Regions from separate parts of the Homo sapiens genome. Here region 1 is linked to region 2. Evidence: promoter capture Hi-C in 16 types of primary human blood cells and fetal thymus (Javierre and others, 2016). All regions are on one chromosome and are shown on one strand. Each heading gives the region's core, a stretch centred on a gene start or on the middle of the fragment in contact. The rest is flanking DNA. Distances are from core to core; before and after follow the strand shown.

The links. The method cuts DNA at HindIII sites, captures the fragments that hold promoters and counts their contacts. A CHiCAGO score of 5 or more calls a contact.
Region 1: a contact is called between a fragment that was not itself captured here and the fragment with the promoter of KCND2 in region 2, in 1 of 17 cell types (endothelial precursors). The highest score is 8.2, in endothelial precursors.

Annotation. Positions count from the first base shown.
Region 1 is chr7:119,253,952-119,258,700 of GRCh38, reverse strand. No RefSeq gene overlaps it. Among named protein-coding and RNA genes, the nearest start is that of LINC02476, 650 kb to the left of the region's middle. The HindIII fragment of the contact is 519 bases long and covers 1,629-2,147 here.
Region 2 is chr7:120,271,209-120,275,957 of GRCh38, reverse strand. It overlaps KCND2 (potassium voltage-gated channel subfamily D member 2), which reads right to left and starts at 2,783. Exons shown (of 6, transcript NM_012281.3): 1 at 211-2,783. The coding sequence starts at 1,325. RefSeq lists an enhancer at 2,018-2,087 and silencers at 2,528-2,677, 3,597-3,696. The HindIII fragment of the contact is 3,977 bases long and covers 1-2,957 here.

The DNA.
Region 1 (4,749 bases), core at 639-3,138, 1.0 Mb after region 2:
GGAACAGGAGCTGGCAGTGCTCTGGGAAATGAGATCTGCTCAGAGCTTTTTAAGTGACTTTTATCATGAAAAAATTATTCAGGAAAAGCTATTTAATTCTCTCACATAATATATTCTTCAGGTTTGGAGAATTATGACTATCTTAATACTTCACATGACATATTTCTAAGGCTTAAAGAAACAAAATGATATGAAATATTTATTGATAACCCACAAGGCAAGATATACTGAGGTGGTATTAAGTTCTTCTGAAGTCCAGAAACACATATTGGCATCATAATTGTGACTCTTAACTGCATGCTAAAGTAGACTCTGAAAGAAAAAGTAAATTCAGATTAATGACTAATAACGGAGAAGATCGTTCTCTGTTAAACACAAGGTAAACTCTTTTGTTCATGGGTTTATAAAAGTCATATGTAAATAATCAACTTAAGGAAGATTAGTCATACTAACATTTTTATCTCACATATTTTTTCTTCTTTGATTTTCTCATATTAAAAAGGGGATGGGTCTCCAGTGAGGCCCCACCTTCAGTCCAGGGAGGGCCTGAAAGCTAGGGACCAGGCTGCCAGTAACACAGACTGGAATAGGGACTGTGGTGCCTTTTACAGGCTGGCCCGTGGAAAACTGGCAGGGCTTCCTGCCTCTCCAGGGCCTCCTCTCTGCTGAGAGCTGAACACTTGAAGGGATGACTTGCCTATAGAGAGGAGCTACCCACCTGCAGGTCTCCTCTGAGCTTTTCTAACACTCAGCAAAGCTCCTCTTCATCTTCCTTTCCCTCCACTTGTCTGCGTACCTCATTCTTCCTGGGTGGAGGACAAGAACTCGGGAAAAGGCACCGTCGGCCACAGAGGTTTCTGGCCAGAAAAGCAACACCCAAAGATCCCATAACAATACCAACATTTTTATCTCAAGTACTTTTTCTTACTTCTTTGATTTTCTCATATTAAAAAGGCATTTGCTAATTGTGGACATGAAGAATGAGAAAAGGAATGAGGGTTATCTTAGTGTTAACACAAATCCTATTCTGTTAGTTGAGTAAAATGGATTTGACAACGGAATATTTTAAACCAAATACATGAGGTTGTCCAAGAAATCCCCATTTTCTATGTGTTTTATGGGGAAATATAATTATTTGCTGTAAAAACCATCTGCTTTTCTTGCCAACAACTTCACTTTTAATCATTGTTTCAAGAGAATGAATAATAAAGAGACATAAAAGCAAATAAAGGGAAGAGCCTTATTTGTATTTACAATCTCAGAACCAACAACGCCTTACACTTACACTTTGTTTCCGAGAACATGAAATCTTAAAACAAAAGTCAATCCCAAATAGGTTGCTCACTAATAACTTTATATGTGCTTTCTTCAAATCCAAAATAAATTTAAAATACCTAATATTTTATTTATGATACACTATAGTTAAAATTACAAAGTAATAATATCAACTACTTCATAAATCTGTTTTTAATCCATTTTGCTGGCTTTATAGGCAGAACCTAGTAAAGTTAAGGAAGATAAATACTAAGTACTGCAGGTGTTTAATCAACACAGTCCCTTTTGTATTCTATGATTTGGCTCTTCTTTTCATGATATATCATCATAAAATATGGATTTTGTTCAAAGCTTTCCATTAAGAATCCAAGATCATTACTGAAGGTGAGGATAGAAACGAAGAGTTTTTCTCCGGACAATCCTCAGCTCTGGTATACTCTTGCCTTTCCACCTCATCAGCTCTACCAAGTCTGAATTTCCTGACTTTTAAGGCACTATGCCAGCTCCATCTGTTTACTCACCTAATATGAGTTAAATTTGTTTAAGGATGAGTTTACCTACTAAGGGATTATCTTTTATTTGCTTATTATTAGCAGCAGGAAACAGTGTGTAGTTTTGTCCATGTTCTGTATATATGTGGGTTCAGAGGTTTAAATGATGGGAAATGGAATATATGCTTTTTTTAAAAAGCAATATAATTTACATTAATTAATTTAACATACGGTCTTGGGTCCAGCCAAAGCCAGGGTTCCACTGTACAGTACATTTTCTCCCTAAAGCCAAGGAAGGAAATGAGAAAATCTGTCTTTGTGTGTCTTGCCAGCTTTTTTGTTCTTTTAAAAGTGTTATTATACCTTAGTAAGAAGCAAGCTTCATATGTTTTATGTTTATCTCTTTTTCATTCATAATCATGTTTTCATATATTAGAAATACTTTGTCTTTTATCAGTAAGTCTATATTATGAAATAATTTACTCAGCTCTTAATATTGACATCTACTTCAGGGATGACTGTACAATTTTTGACATAATATCAAATTCTTGCACTCATACACACACACAAATCCTCCAAATTTTTACAATATTAAAGTTTTAAAATTATTTTAAATACATTAGTATGGACAAAATATAAGCATAAAATTATAAAATACTAAATGAAAGGCTCTCATGACAACAGTACCATCACTACATTGTTCCCAAAGTAAAACTGATGGTCAGATGGCAAAGTGCCATCAGCATTAGTGTTATGTAACAGTTGCAAAGCTACCAACATGAAAAGGTTCACTTTGGACACTTAGATTTCACTGTTTGTTATAATACAAGTGAGAGGTCTCCAAAATATTAAAGATGAGCATGTTAATTAGATGGTAAGATGTTAAATATTTTATTTTCTATAGATTTGAAAATGTGTTACTGTTAAAACAAAAGAAGCCATCATTAATCAGGCTGGTTTAGAAGCCTTCTTTCAATAATATGATGTAATACAACCTAATTATTTTATAATTATAATTTATGTACTAATCATTGCACTTCCAAATACAAAATTATGCTGTTTTTGTTTTCATTTTTCTCCCCTTGTAGAGCTTGAAACCTGTAAAATGCTAAGCTAATGATATTTTCCTTTTAAATGTTAAAAAGATAGCTATTTATACTGGTTCAAAGTAAAATTTAAAAGCCTAAAATATTTTATCAACTATGAAATATTTTAATTAAATCATATTTATATTATTATGTGAATTAAATATTTCCATTATAAATATCATAAGTATATTTATACATTTCCATTATAAATTTTATAAATATATTTACATAGGCTTACTTTGGATATATTTTTGTCAGTTTTTCAGATGAGCTGATATGACAGAATCATTTACTTTTCAAATAAACATGATGCAGCATTTCAAATGCACATTACTAATAATTCACTCTTTAGTTGATGGGTCTTTTATTGTATTTATTTCCAAAATCCCAGTTTCTTCTATTATCTTTTCCTTAGAAAGTAGATACATTTGAAAAAACATGGTTATAAAAGTAAATTTAAATCTCCCATTTCTCCAAAGATAGGAGAGAAAAACAATCAACAGTTTGTCCATGGAGAGAAAAATTTTCCATTCCAAGGATATAAACACCTTCATGAAGATTAATATTTTCTACCTAGTATTTAAAATTTCAGCATTGGTATTAGGGGTAAGACAGACTATTTGTTAGATCACTCTTGAATTAAAAAAATAATAATTGCTGTGAATCCAAGTAACACAAGCCTGCCTGACAAACAGAATGACATTTCATATTCTAAAATATGTCACAATTATATTTGAATCTAATTTAATTTTTCTCCTACCAGCAGGACATCTTAAAACAGATGCTTTTAAGAATGTCATACACATCTACTCTGTTTATCTCACATTGCTTTGCTTCCTTTTTGTTTTTAATTGATTCTCTCTATGTAGCAGCAGTCTTATAATTCCTGACTGTTTCAGTAACCCCATGACTCATCACATAAATTACTCTGTAAAATTGCTTGTACAATCTATACCCTACCTAGATATTTCACATGTTAGGGCTGACAAATAGAGACTATCACAGAATTAAACTTAGGACTGTGAACCAAAGTTAAAACTCAACTAAGTAAAACTGTATTTTGTGAACTGAGCTTAGGTGAGCTGAGGTTATTAATTTAATATTTCTCAGTGCACTTCCTATCTGCAAAATGGGAGGATTAGATGAAATATTAGTTAAGTTCTGAGTAAGAAGTTTGAATCTGGATTCTAGTCACTTAAAAGTTAGAATAAGATGACTTTGTCTATTCAAAAATACATTTATATAATTAATTTTCAAAAATTTTACTTTTATAGTCTTATCTTTAATACTTATGTATCTTTATGTTTAAAAATATTTTAATATGTGACTATATCTGAAGACCAAATAATTTGGTATCATCACCAATAGAAGTGCATCCTTCTGTGTTCAGACAAGAGCACTGAATTGAATCAGCTTTGTCTTTATAAGGGCCACCGGGTAAAAGTCTTACTTCACAATTAATCTCTGAAATTTTAGGGAAAGTTTTTATTCTTTATCTATTTAATGAAGAATTTGTTAAAACTGATTCTTTATAAGAAATTTATTTAGTCTCCTTTCTAGTTAACAAATCTAAAGACTGAATATAGCAGAAAGTCATATATGTTCCAACTATGTAAGAAAACATACAAATGAATAATTTTTTCAAAGCATAACTCAGAACTAGGGTTAAATTTGAACCAGGTGAGTCAGTCTTAATAATATCCACTTATTATCATTTCTTAAAACCCTATACTGAAGGCAATCAGAAACCAGAAATATACTAGTTAAACTTGCATCAGTGCCTTTGAGACAGTAATTTCATTTTTATCAGTTTAACTTAAGTGGCTTTCTCAAATATGATAGAGCTTAAACATCCTTAAATGAAAGAACTCTGTATACAGTGTTTAAACAAAAAT
Region 2 (4,749 bases), core at 1,534-4,033:
AACATTTGCCAGCAATGCCTTAATACTTCAACGTGTGTATTATACCCATTTCACAGATGAAAAGAGTTTTGCCAAACCATTTAGATAATGCTTTCCTAAACTCAGGAAAGAAAACAAATGATTTCCCCGGAGTTACCATGTAACCTCGATGGGTCCACAATCGCCTCACCCATACCCAACCTCCATCCCATTTCCCATTATGGCACCTACCCTAGTGTTGTCATGGTGACGATGGTATACCAGAAGGCTGCAGGGATGCTGGTGAACTTGCTAGCCGAAGACCCCTTCTCTGCGTAGAACATAACTGTAGCGAAGATGATGATAGCCATGGTGAGCGAGAAAAGCAAGAAGCCCAATTCTGAGGCACAACTCTTCAGTGTGTACCCCAGGATGCGCAGGCCTTGAGAGTGGCGGGAAAACTTAAAGATCCTGAAGACCCGGAAGACTCGGAGTGTGACAAAGGCTCCGCTGACGTCCTCATTGTCTGTCATCACCAGCCCAATGTAATAAGGCAGGATGGCCACCACGTCGATGATACTCATGACACTACGCACAAAACGGTAACGACTAGGCGCTGCAGCCAGGCGAAGCAAATACTCAACTGTGAAGATCATGACGCAGGCCGTGTCCAAGCAGAAGAAGGCCACAGCATACCGCTCTCCACAGGGCAGTTCTTTAATGTGACCTGGGCTTGATCCGCACGGCACTGTTTCCACCACATTCGCGATGACAGAGACGGCAATGAAAAACCCCGTGACATAGTAGAACACCAGGGCCATCGTGCTGGTGTGGGGGTTCTCGAAGGCCCTCCAGACCCTCTGCCTTGCAGTCATGGTGGGCAAGGCGCTCTCCCCAGCGGTGTCGGTATCCGCGTCGTCCTGCAGGCGCTCGGCGTTCTCTCGCCTGCGATCCTTGTACTCCTCATAACAGCAGTCGCCGATGATTTCCGGGATGAGGCCAAAGAAGGCCAGTTCTTCATCGTAAGCAGAGATGCACTCGTGGCGAGGATAGTGGAGCTTCCCAGTGCGGTAGAAATTCAGGATGTGGCGGAAGATGTCTGGGTCACGGTCAAAGAAATACTGCTGAGTTTCTGGGTGGTAGAAAAAGTCCCTCTCAGAACTGCCCAGTAGAGTGTCTGGGTAACGTTCCAGGGTGTCCTGCCACGTCTGGAAGCGGGTGCCACTCACATTCAGCACAATGAGAGCATCTTGGGTCCTTTTCCTCTCCTGCCTCGGGGGAGCCGGCATAGGCCCCGAGGCCACAGGCATCCACCCGATAGCCGCTGCCCTTGCAAAAGGCAGCCACGCTGCCACCCCCGCCGCCATGATTACTTGAAGCGGAAGGAAGAAGGGTAACGAGGCGTCTACAATGGGTCACCGAAGCAGCCAAAAGTCACCCACTTCCTCCAGTCAAGCAAAGTACTAGTGAGAAACGTGGTCCAGAGGTGTAACTCTTATTCCAAGATAGGGCTCCTGGTAAAGTCACAGTTCTCAGAAGGGCAACTTTCCCTCCAAGACAGGTATTTGGAATAATGGCAACAAAATACAACGTCCTAACAATCACCCTCAACAGAACCCAGCCAAATCTCTTCCTGCAGGTGGGCTAGGCCACCCTCTGGCACAAATAAGCACACAGGTGCAGCCGTTTCTTCAAACAGGTGTTTTTGATTTCTCCCCGGCACAGTCTGGATAATATAGGGTCAGTATGTGGAGTGTAGGATAGAGAAGACGAACGAGAGTCACCCAATAGAATTCTTTCGACGAATTAGGGAACCCTTACACCTACCCTTCTCACTCTTTCAAACCTTCCTTTCCAAGTAGCCCTTCCCGCCAAAGGAGTCTCAAAAAGGCGACCTGTTGTTGTAGCTCAGGAGATGCGGTCACAGCCGCTGCCCCACGTCTCTCTTTGGGGGTCCAGCTGCTGCTGCCTCTACTCCTCGGGCTGTATTTGCAGAGATGGAGGTGATGTGCAGTGGTTACGGTGGGGGGCGTTAATAGAGATTCTCCTCCCCCACGTCTACAAACACCCTCTGTGTCTGCCAAAAGCGTTCGCCCAATCGCCCCTTCACTCTCTTTTCAAGTTCAGCTCAGGTGCAGTGTGACAGTTACAGAGCTCAGGAGCTGGCAGCCGCCGCCGCCGTGGCGGCAGCAGCATCTGCTTCCGCGCAGAACGCGCCGCTCCCGCGGTACATACCTGGCCAAGTGCGCGCCGGGGCTTAGTTGCATAGAGACTTTCTCCTCGCCGTGCACCCGGAAAGGGAAGAGGAGAGAAAGCAGCTCGCGAGCAGCCGAATCCGATGCGCCGAGAGAGCATAAATAAAGCTCAAGCGAGCTCTTCTTTCCCTTCCCCCATCCCTCCGTGCCTCCCTCCTCCTTTTCACCTTCCAAAAGCCAGGCGCAGGCGAGCAGAGCAGCAGCAACAAGTTCAAAAGGTGCGGGGGAGGCGAGAACGGAGGGGACTCGCTCCTGCCAACTTACTGCGGGGCCACTGTCGCGGGAGCCTGGCCAGCGCGGTGCGGGGCTGCGGGGCGGCGGGGCTGCGGGGCGGCCGGGCGGGCGGCGTTGGCGCGGTGGGGCCGGGGCCGGGGCCGGCACGGGCTCTCGTCCGAGCGCGGAGGCAGAAGGCGCTCGGCAGCGCGGGGGCGCGGGAGGGCTGCTAGCTGCTTCCCCGCCAGTGGGTGGTCCTGCATCTCCCCGGGCTCCCCGCGCTGCTCTGCTAGTGCGATCAATAAATAAGGAGAAAATAAATAAATAACCGCGCGCACGCCCCGCCACGCAGGTTAGGAAAGGCGTCTCCTGCCTTTCCCTCGGCTTGACCTTTCTCCGCCCCCGCCCCCTCGGGCTCCTCTCGCTCCACCCCAGCCACCCACCAACCCCGGCGCAAAATGTCACCGAGGGAGAGCATCCAGGTGGATCTGCTGGGGAGAAAAGCGAGCCTCGGATGAACAAAGGGAAGCTTCACGTGCTGGGCTGCGGTGGTTTGGTGGAGGAGAGGAGAAAGGGGACCCGTGCCTTGCTTCTGCCTCTCGAGTCCCGGTTCAAGGCGAGCGTGGGAAAATGGGGGGAAAGAGAGCGAGAGAAGCTGGGAAGGAGGGTGAGCGGAGCGGAATGCGCAGGAATTGGTTGTCTTCTGGGGGCGACTGGAAGGCAAGACCCGCAAAGCTCCGACGCGGAATTTTTAAGTGCATTTCCTCTTTCTGTTTTTATTTATTTTCAAAACCAGATTGTTAACGTTGCAGGGATTGATATGCCATCTGTCCAACTTGCCAAAAAATCAGAGACTCTCCTCGATCGAGGTCTTGACACAACTCCTTTTCCCGTCCTTTACGAATAACAGGGATGTGGAGCCCTTTTCTAAATGTCATCGTCAAGGGGCGTGCGTCTCTGAAAGTTTGCGTCCCCTTCATCCTCTCTGCGCATCACTGCGCATATTTAAAATAGTTAAAAGAGTTAAAGGTGTTCGTATGAGGGGTTACTGAGGTAGAGAGACACAGGAAAATTGTCGCTACCAACCTTTTTGTTTTTCGCGTACCCCGCCCCCGAGTCATTAGGAATCATCCTTAAAACCAAACGTAACACATACAAGCCACTAGATGGCGTGGATGGCGAGAAGTTAAATCTGCACCTAAGGTTTGGATGCTTTAGGAAGGTGAAGGATCAAAATTAACTGGTCCAACAGAGAGTCAGATCACATAAACATCCCCAAACCCCTTCGCTGCCACCCACCTTTTTTGTGTTTATGTGACATATACTACTTAGGCTTGAGTCTGCATTTGGATAGTTGTGGGATGAGATGTGGAGAGTTTCCTTTTGAAATTCCTTTGAAAATTAAATCTAGATTACTGAATCATCATCATCATAGTAATTAAGATCTTTGGCAATAATGAGGCTTCATCTGTATTGATGAAGAATAGTAGCCTAATTTCTACCTAAAAATTACTTTTCATGGCTTGGTTTGACTGCCCTTGGTTTGTAAAATAAGTGGACTGTGTGTTGTACTTTACGGAAATTGACTTTTAAGCCCTAGAGATTACAGGCATGATGTGTCAACCTTGAAAATTTGAAATGGGATACGTCAAAGAAAATATATAAACTAAAAAATGAGTATAGAAAATAACCAGAGAATTTAAAATATCCTTATCATGTACAGGATTTTCTGTAGAGATAAAAGGGTATTTTTTGTTTGTTTATTTGTTTACAGAATAGAGATTTAAGGAATCCTGTGTCAGTAGTAATGAAGTCAGAGCTAATGCACCATTTAAGTTTGAGGACAAGGAACTGAAGACACCTGCTCTTTATCTATTTGTTTAAGTGAAAGATGCTTGTTAACCAATCTATATAGCCTGCATACCTGAAAACAAACACACAAGCATGTTACCTGGAAAATGGAAATGAGGGGCTTACTACCAATTAATATAAGAAAACCAACCCCTCGTTAGTCCAAACAGTAAGGTGGCACTATGACAGGTGCTGGGCATGGAATCCAGAGGGTGGAGCGCCATGAATATTTAATCAATGCCAATAATGGCATGCTTTCCTGTAAAGATGGGGCGAGGAACCTAAATAGAGCCTTTAAAACTGTGTGGGAAACTGAATGCTTACAAATGTAAAAGTAGGAGCTTAACTCACAAAAGCCCCAAAGAAGCAAGAACATAATATGTACAGTTTTTAAGAAGGTACTGGGATCTGCCCTCCTGCATCTTCAACAAGCTTCTTGATATAGTGGAAAGAATGTGGGCTGAGAACTTAA